Linked DNA regions of Homo sapiens: regions 2 and 3 are each linked to region 1. The links are contacts of gene promoters, found by promoter capture Hi-C in blood cells and fetal thymus (Javierre and others, 2016). All regions are on one chromosome and are shown on one strand. Each heading gives the region's core, a stretch centred on a gene start or on the middle of the fragment in contact. The rest is flanking DNA. Distances are from core to core; before and after follow the strand shown. Region 1 holds the start of GTSF1 (gametocyte specific factor 1). Region 2 holds the start of NFE2 (nuclear factor, erythroid 2). Region 3 overlaps CBX5 (chromobox 5).

What was found. Contacts are between HindIII fragments. The CHiCAGO score rates a contact against its expected background, and 5 or more counts as called.
Region 2: a contact is called between the fragment with the promoter of NFE2 here and the fragment with the promoter of GTSF1 in region 1, in 14 of 17 cell types (naive CD8 T cells, M1 macrophages, monocytes and 11 more). The highest score is 18.2, in naive CD8 T cells.
Region 3: a fragment that was not itself captured here is called in contact with the fragment with the promoter of GTSF1 in region 1 in 1 of 17 cell types (neutrophils); the score reaches 5.5 in neutrophils.

What each region holds. Positions count from the first base shown.
Region 1 is chr12:54,472,176-54,475,060 of GRCh38, forward strand. GTSF1 (gametocyte specific factor 1) reads right to left here and starts at 1,427. Exons shown (of 9, transcript NM_144594.3): 1 at 1,371-1,427. RefSeq lists enhancers at 1,504-2,030, 1,696-1,755. The HindIII fragment of the contact is 3,434 bases long and covers 182-2,885 here.
Region 2 is chr12:54,299,642-54,302,341 of GRCh38, forward strand. It overlaps NFE2 (nuclear factor, erythroid 2), which reads right to left and starts at 1,374. Exons shown (of 3, transcript NM_001136023.3): 1 at 1,160-1,374. RefSeq lists a cis regulatory region at 1,146-2,120 and an enhancer at 1,521-2,261. The HindIII fragment of the contact is 10,882 bases long and covers 1-2,700 here.
Region 3 is chr12:54,237,312-54,240,207 of GRCh38, forward strand. It overlaps CBX5 (chromobox 5), which reads right to left. Exons shown (of 5, transcript NM_012117.3): 5 at 1-2,896. Among named protein-coding and RNA genes, the nearest start is that of MIR3198-2, 7.3 kb to the left of the region's middle. The HindIII fragment of the contact is 2,130 bases long and covers 321-2,450 here.

The sequences.
Region 1 (2,885 bases), core at 177-2,676:
TGGAAGTCTTTGACAGACAGTATACACTCAACCCTTCCAATATGCTTGGAAACACTAGTTCACCATTTTCATGACTTTTCTTAAACATGATCAGGAAGGGCCACACTAACATTGTCCCTTTTTCTAGTGAGGTTTCACCTCCTCTCATCCCAATCTTCAGTGCTAAAGTGGCAATACTTTAAGCTTCTCCAATTAATACTCATTCCCTCTATGCACTAAGGGAAAACCTCTCAATGTTAGGACTCAAGAACTGTCCATATTATGGATAACAGAGTCACAAGAGAACAAATCTGTAACAGGAATGTGAAACATTAAAAGAGAAATGGTTTCACAGTTTGAATCCTTTTCTATTAGAAATCTCTTCTATTGAGCACTGAGACTAAATACATTTATTATTGTGGGAAAAACCTGAATTTATATAAAACCATCCCCATACGAAACTTCTGAAAATTGTCTGTCTCTAGAGCATGCTCTCCTTTGGCCCCTCACACAATTCTACACTCCTCACCACCCCTCCCCCCATTCTGTGACATAAGCAGCGTTAGAACCTATGATAGGAAATACAAGTGATCAGCTAGAACTCTAGTTTTTTTGCTACTGAGCCCATTTGTTAATGACAATCATTAGTGAATTTGTCTTAAAAATATTTTTCATATTTATGTTTGGATCAAGAAATCCCCACCGTCTTTTTGTATATATTTCACTTATACATAGTTACTTCATACTTTTTCATTAAAAATAAGAGTTTTGGAAGGAAGAACCAAGTATGTTTCTTGATTTTAAGTGATGAGCACCAGATTCAGCAGCTTGTAGGAAGCCAACCTATTCTTCCCGGACAAAAGGACGAATTACAGTACACTAGGGGCACTGGAATTCACAGTACCATCACTTAGCCGTGTCTGTTTTAAGTATCTTCCGCATCAAACTGTTAACGGGATTCTTTACCTTTTCCCTACTACTAGATCACGGTGAAATAGACAAGCTACGCCGGAAGCAATCAAGTTTAGGGTATGGATGTAGTCGGCGGCTACTGGTTAAACGCTTAACAGAATTCCGGCCTTAGTAAAAGAATCATTTTTCTTCCTTTAAACAACAACAACAACAACAAAATCACAGTAGACTTAATCAATGAGACTAAATAAGAGAAAGTGGGGGAGGTGGTTAACTTAAAAAAAACATAGAAAAGGCGCCAAGGAGGCCCTCGAGTGGGCAATGCAGCGAAACAGGTTGGTAGCCAAAATAGCTGCATTGAGAGCCCACAAGGCTGAAGGCTACCAGCAGAAAAGCGAAATGAGGATATTAGAAGGTGAAGGTATCCCGGTACGCAAAATAGGAATTGCTTAGAGGCGCCCCGGGGTGCCTTTCCTTACCTCGGTGGACACACACCTTCCTCACAGTCACCTTCCTCCCACGCAAGCCCCAGCAACGGCCACTTCCGGCGCCTAACGTTGGGAGGTGGGGCGAGGGGCCGGCACTTCCTGTGACTGGGAGTCTCGGTTCTGGCTGAGTGTGGGGCAGGGTGGATCAGCTGTGGAGTTCACCTGTGAGCCCCTAGGGTCAGCTCCCTGATGACCCTTTCCCACGAGGATCTCCTCCTTGGGCACCCCATCTTTGGGGCCATCCTCCCCTGGCCCCCAGAACAACAGTGGCCTTGAGAGGGTAGAACTCGCATTTCTTTCCCTGGGTTTTGTGGCGGCCATCTTAGAAAAGGCAGATGAGCACTTAGAAATGGGCACCTGCGATTACCTCAGGAGTTCAAGACCAGCCTGGCCAACATGGTGAAACCTCGTCTCTACTAAAAATACAAAAATTAGCTGGGTGTGGTGGCGGGCGCCTGTAATCCCAGCTACTTGGGAGGCTGAGGCAGGAGAATTGCTTGAACCCGGGAGGCGGAGGCTGCAGTGAGCCGAGATTGCACCACTGCACTCCAGCCTGGGCGGCAGAGTGAGACTCCGTCTCAGGAAAAAAAAAAAAAAAAAAAAAAAAATGGCGCCTGAGGGAATGGGACTGATGGAACTGGTTAGAGGTGGGGAGCTGCCTAGAAAGAAGCCTTGTTTGTGGAAGTTGTCTAGATAGAAAGGTAATTTAGATTTTGAGGGAAGAGAAGAGGAATTATAAAGGAGATACGCAGTGCAGCCACAAAACAATCACCAAGGACAGGAATTTTGTGTCTGGCTGTTCTTGTTTAGAATGTGTTGTAAAATCCCAAAATTCAAAAGGCACTAACTATCTGAGAATGCTTGGTAGGATGATGGTTGTTGCTGCCTGATGAAAGCGAGTTTTAGAGTTGGGGAGAGAGCTCAATGAAGAGTTGGAGAGGACAAGAAGGCCGGAAGGTTACAACTTGTTAAGGGAAAACCAAACGTAGTGTGAGGCTTTGTTCTGGGGAAAAAAAGTGTAAGCTGCAGTTCTTGTCCCCAGAGTGCTTAGAAAAACGACTCCCAAAGTGGATGAAAGGTTTAATAGCAGTACAAAAAATGCCAAAAAAAGTGGTAGAGACTGTAAATTCCTGTAAGGAAAAAAATTAATGGGGCCTGAAATGACCTGGGAAGGCATTATAGAGAAAAGGGACTTGTAGCCTTTGAAGGTTAGACAAAAAAAGGAAGGTGTTGACACTACAAGTAGATCTGGTGGTAATATTTTTCAAAACCAAGAAGTAAAAGATATGACAAAACATTCTGTGCTGTTCAAGATGTAGGAGGCAGTCTGGGTGATTAGTCTGGGCAGTGAAATATTGGGATTTCTACAGCATTTCAGTGGTGTAGAGCCCAAATAGGACTTGAGAGGACTACCCTGACAAAAACTGAATGTAGCTTTAGTAAAAAGGATCAGTGGGGCATTTTCTTTTTCTTCTTTTTTTTTTTTGAGATGGAGTCTCGCTCTGT
Region 2 (2,700 bases), core at 124-2,623, 170 kb before region 1:
TGATTAGGAATACAGAGTGAGGACTATTCGGAGAGGGATGATGGAGAGAGGAATACATTTGGCCTTAGCTGCTGCCCCAGGGCTCTTAACTTCCTTAACGAGGGGGAACGATGAGAGGGGGCTTGCCTCAGGATCCCTTTTCTGAGGCTTATTTGACCACCTCACCTCTCCAGGTGTCAATAGGTGCAGTGAAAGGATGAGGAGGGATTAGTAAAACTTGGGGTATTGGTTAACCGGTAAGCAACCTATTTAGAAAGATTAGGGAGAACTCCCGAAGAGAGAGAGACACACAGAGATGAGACAGAATGAAGGGGAAAAAAAGGAGGGAGAGAGATTTAAGCATAGTGAGCTCAGTGCCCTAGGGACATGCATGACTCAAACAAATGTGTGAGAACAAAGAAGAGGGGGACGAGTTTCTGCTATTGTGTCACTTCATCCCTGGACCCCAAACTCCAGTCCTTTGGTACCGATGTCTAGGGGATCCCAGCCCCAGCAGTTCTGATACCTCCTCTCTTCTCTTCCACTGCTTCCCAAGCCCCTATTTCCCAAGCAGCCAAGAGTTCCAGTTAGAAGCAACTATGCTGGGGTTGGGATGTCTTCCTTCTCCCTCCAGGTCCAGCTGATCTCTACTGCCCCTGGGCACAGAGAAGAGAAAGGGCAAAGGAGCCAACAACCCAGAGGCAATCTCCCATCCAACCCCCGCACCTTGCAACACTTCTCAGAGGTTCAGATATCCAGTGTTTCCAATTCCTCAGCTTTCCCTAAACCTTCTCAGCTGCCTAGACAGGGCAGAGTAATGGAATGGAGTTGGGGAAAGGGTAGTCTATTGGTTCCCTCAGGGTAGCCCACCAGTTGAAGGATTCCTCCTGGCTACTCCCCAGCCCCTCAGCGGTGCCTTGCCTCTGGAGACCCCTCTCTGATCCCCATTCACAGCCTCCACCCCAAGGATCCCAGAGCACCCAAGAAACCACTTAGGTCTTCTCCTAGAGGAGTTCCCAAATATGTCAGATTCCTAAACCAGGGGCAATCTAGAAAGTCTGAGGTCTCCTAGGATACCGAAAGTTGGTTATTTTCCCCCCTCACCTCCTTCACCCCCCAGCCTGCCCCTCGGATCTCACTGGAATCCGCCCCCCCCACACACACCCTGCCTTTCAGGCACCTGTGGTGGAGTCACAGCAGGGTGAGGAGAGAGATGAGGCTCCCGGTGTTGTCTCTGGGGAGGCTGAGCCTGAGCTGACACTGCTGGACGAGGATCCCGGCTACCTTTGAGAATCTGCGAGGACCGCGCCCCGCCCCCGGGCCATTGCTGAGCGCTGAGTGTGGAAGCTCAGGCTGAGCTGAGCACAGGAGCCCCAAGCAGGCGCACCAGCGTCTGAAGCCCTCGGCCTGAGTTCTCAGTCCTTCCTCCAACCCTCCCCTTTCCCCGTGGCTCTCCTCTCCTCCTGCCCCTTTCGGCCAAGAGAGGAAACTTGAGCCCGATGTGGTTTCTGCCCACACCCCGCCCCCACCTTGCTCCTGGCCAGCGGGGGCACACATGGCTCCAAGCCTCTCCCAGCCCTCCTTTTCAGCCCAGGAGTCCAGCCAGGTCTGCGTTTCTCCCATGCATTTGACGAATTCCAACCTGATGGTCCACTCGAATGTGACCTTTAAACTTTATACAGGTTGTCGTCGCCTTGTGTCCCCACGGCTCTCCTAGGGACAGGGAAACTGAGTCATATCAAGGTGGAAGGCAGCTGAAGGTAAGGACCAGGTGTCTAGCTTCCCAGCTGTCTAGGCAGTTGGACGTTTAGGGTATAGCCTTCATTTACAGAAAACCTGGGCTCTGGGAACAAGGGCAGGGGAACTATTTGGAGGAGGAGGGGCAACTGACTGCTTTGATGTGTCCTTTCACCTGTAGCCTTCTCCCCTCCCCCCTCAGCCTCAGAAGTCCCAGGACAAAGGATTCTTTCTTGGCCAGGTTTTTGTCAGTGTGTGAAGGGAGTTAGGTGGGGGGCCACCCAGCAGGGAGATTATTCACCTCCCGTAAAGGGGACCCCAGGTGTCCTTTGTCCTCCTTTCTCCCAGGCAAAGCACCCCAGCCACATGGCACCCAACTCTGTTAGGCCAGTAAGTACCCTTATTCATCTTTTTTTTTTTTTTTTTCCAGAGAGGGGCTCACTCTGTCTCCCAGGCTGGAGTGCAGTGGTGTGAACATGTTTCACTACAGTCTCAAACTCCCAGGCTTAAGCAATCCTCCCACCTCAGCCTCCCAAGTAGCTGGTTCTATGGGTCAGTGCAACCATGCCCAGCTAATTTTTTTTTTTTTTTTTTTTTTTGGTAGAAGTGGTGTCTCACTATATTGCCTTGGCTGGTATTGAATTCTTGGGCTCAAGCAATCCTCCCCTCTTGGCCTCCCAAAGTGCTGGGATTACAGGCATGAGCCACCTCACCCAGCCCACTTATTCATCTTTTTGCCTGCAAGCTACACCACCAAAGCCCCAGGTCAAACATCTTTCTCCACAGACTGTGAGAAAAGAGCCTTTCTTCCTCCTAATTTGTAATGGCTTTCAGCTCTATATGTCTAGCTTCAATCCTGACATCTGCAGCTTACATTTTTTCTTCTTACAATGTTCAAGTTAAATTAGAAACATCTGAAGACTGGGGAAGCAGATAGGTGCCACTCTGGAGTAGGACTGGCATTCAACCAGCATGCTCTGATGG
Region 3 (2,896 bases), core at 136-2,635, 230 kb before region 1:
CAAACAAAAAACCCCAGCAAATAAAGGATTTTCCATGAACAGAAAAGCAAATATAAATGCAGTTGATAAACTAGAAAGCAATCATCAACTAATTGCAGACTATAAAGATACCCAAAAATCCTTCTCAAAATAGCACCCCAGTGGATGGTAGTCAAGCTTTCCAGCAACCAGTTATTGATGATTCATGGCCTACATCAAATGAATAAGACTTCGATTTTTGATACCAACAATGTCCCCAAACCAAACTTAACAAAGCTAATGACTGCTTCTCAGTAATTCAGGAAAAATTTAGAAATATAGCATTGTGAGCAAAAAACAGAAGCTTGTTTTGGGGACAGGAATTCCAAGAGTCTGAGTGAAGATGTGGTTGGAAGCCTTCTCAAACATGCAAGTCCAGGGCTTTTCTCATCCTGCCTTCCCATCACCTGACCCTCCTCTGAAACCACCCCTCAAGTCTTTAGCAAAGTCAGGTATTACAGAGGACAGAGCAACAAAGAGGGCAACTGGAATTTAAAAAAAATTGTATTACTGAAAGTGCTCCATGAGAGCAAACAAATAATGACAATTTTATTTTTGTCCACAAAAATTTAATAGAGGTGGCCAGGCACGGTGGCTCATGCCTGTAATTCCAGCACTTTGGGAGGCCAAGGTGGGCAGATCACAAGGTCAGGAAATCGAGACCATCCTGGCAAACATGGTAAAACCCCATCTCTACCAAAAATACAAAAATTAGCTGGGCATGGTGGCACACACCTGTAGTCCCAGCTACTCGAGAGGCTGAGGCAGGAGAATCGCTTGAACCCAGGAGGTGGAGGGTACAGTAAGCCAAGATTGTGCCACTGCACTCCAGCCTGGTGACAGAGCGAGACTCTGTCTAAAAAAAATAAATAAATAATAGAGGTGAATGTCTGCATTAGGATCAAGACAAGAAGAAGACAGACAATCACTTTGGAATTCTGAGACTACCTCCAAGAATCATCCACGGAAGGATGTCAGCCATTTAACCAGGGCTACGGATCAAAAAGGAAAAAATACAGTCAGTGGACAAGTAGAAGAGTCTCCTGAAAAATATCCGTATTTGAAAAGGCAGCAGGAGTTGATAGAAAACATAACTAAAAAAGTAGAAGACACTGTTAAATTTGAATCTGGATCCTATATAGCTTCTTCTCTGGGATCTACTGAGGAGTGAAATCTAAATGAAGATTTAGCTTAGAAAGCATGAAGATAGTATGTTCCAATTTTAAATAAAAATTATATTGTCTGAAAGACAATACAATTTTAGTACTGGGGGAAAAAAAACTAGATTGTTATTTGAAGAAGAAAACATCATGGTTCTCTCCAGGTTTAAAATGGGTGCTCCCATGTAGGCTGATTTTCCCGGCATTTGATCTTAACTTGAAGGCCATCTGCCCAGCCCAGCAATCAAAGGGCTGCTAAGCTGTCCTTGGTAGCCTCTACTGGGCAAAGCTGTGCTATAACTCTGAAGAAAGGGAGATCTTTTAATGTTGATTACTGAAAGGCTTAGAAAGATGTCTTGAAAGAGGACTAAACACAAGAAAAATAAATTTTTAGCATTTGAGACTTAGGTGTTTAAGAGTGCTTAGCTCTTAACTATTAACTCTTCTGAGGGGAGAAAGCTCCATGAAACAGGTTTCTGTTTGAGGCTGTAATTCTTCTAGGGCAAGAACATCTACTCAACACTAACAAATGCTGGAAGCAGGCATCTGATTTCCTTTGTGCTAAGGGCTGAAATCAATACTGGCCTCTGGCTCCCTACATTCCTATAGAACCAGCTGCAGGTAGGCAGGAAGAGAACAAAAGTTGTTTTGGCGGCACTCAGTACAATAAACCGAAGACAAAAAAGACAGAGTAAAGTCTATTAACAGATGGTAAGTAGTAGATGATACTGGGGTTATTTCGGTAAAAGAATATCAGATTTTTATGAATGTCTTAAATATTACCTATAACCACAGCAGCCACATGCCCCAGGTTTCTCAGAACCAATCTCAGTACCAAATATTGTCATGTTCTTTGTCCACATACTAGGTTTTTGGTTTTAAAAATAAGGTCGCTGCAGTTTACATGCCCACTGCTACTGGGAGGCATACACTGGGCCACTTGGATAGGCTGTCATTTTCTGCAAATCAAGAGACCCATATCACCTCCTCAGGAGCTCTGGCCTATTTTTGTCCTATTCTTGTCTACCCTAATTGATATCCTTGGCTACATTTATGATAAATGTTTCCTGACCATCCTTTCCTTCTTTTAGATACCGATCAGATTAAGTACAAGCAATTGTCAATTATCCAGCACTTGATCTAGGCCTTTAATTCCTTCAGAGAGAGAAGGAATATAGAGATAAAACTCCCACCCACTTGAGGTATGGTTTATGAGCTCTTGCCCAATCACATTACCATTCAGAAGGATTTTCCTGGCTGACTTAAACCAAAAGCTTCATTGTTCCAGTCTGTCATGTCACTGCAGCAACAGCTGTCACCTCAATTATGCAGTATAATTTTTGACATAATTTATATAAGCACACAGAATTCAATCAGCAGCTGAGCAGGGAAGCAATGTTAACAAATGCTATGAATGGGTATATGATTTGCATATTATGTGGCTCATCTGTGGACTGGAGCAATCCATCCATTCCCCTCATTACTCTGAATAATCTAGAAATGGTAGATGCTCCTGGCCAGACAGCTGTATGTTTTAAAAATCAAAAACAACAAGAAAAGCAGCCTCATGGCTGGTGCGCTCTAGAATTAAGGCTATATTAAGCATTTATTCTTATTTCCTCAGCTTTGGGGCTGGGACAAGGATCCTCAAAACCCTGCTATTTCCTTACTTTTAATTGTGATTCTCTAGCCCTCCTCAACTACAAAAAGAAAAGGAT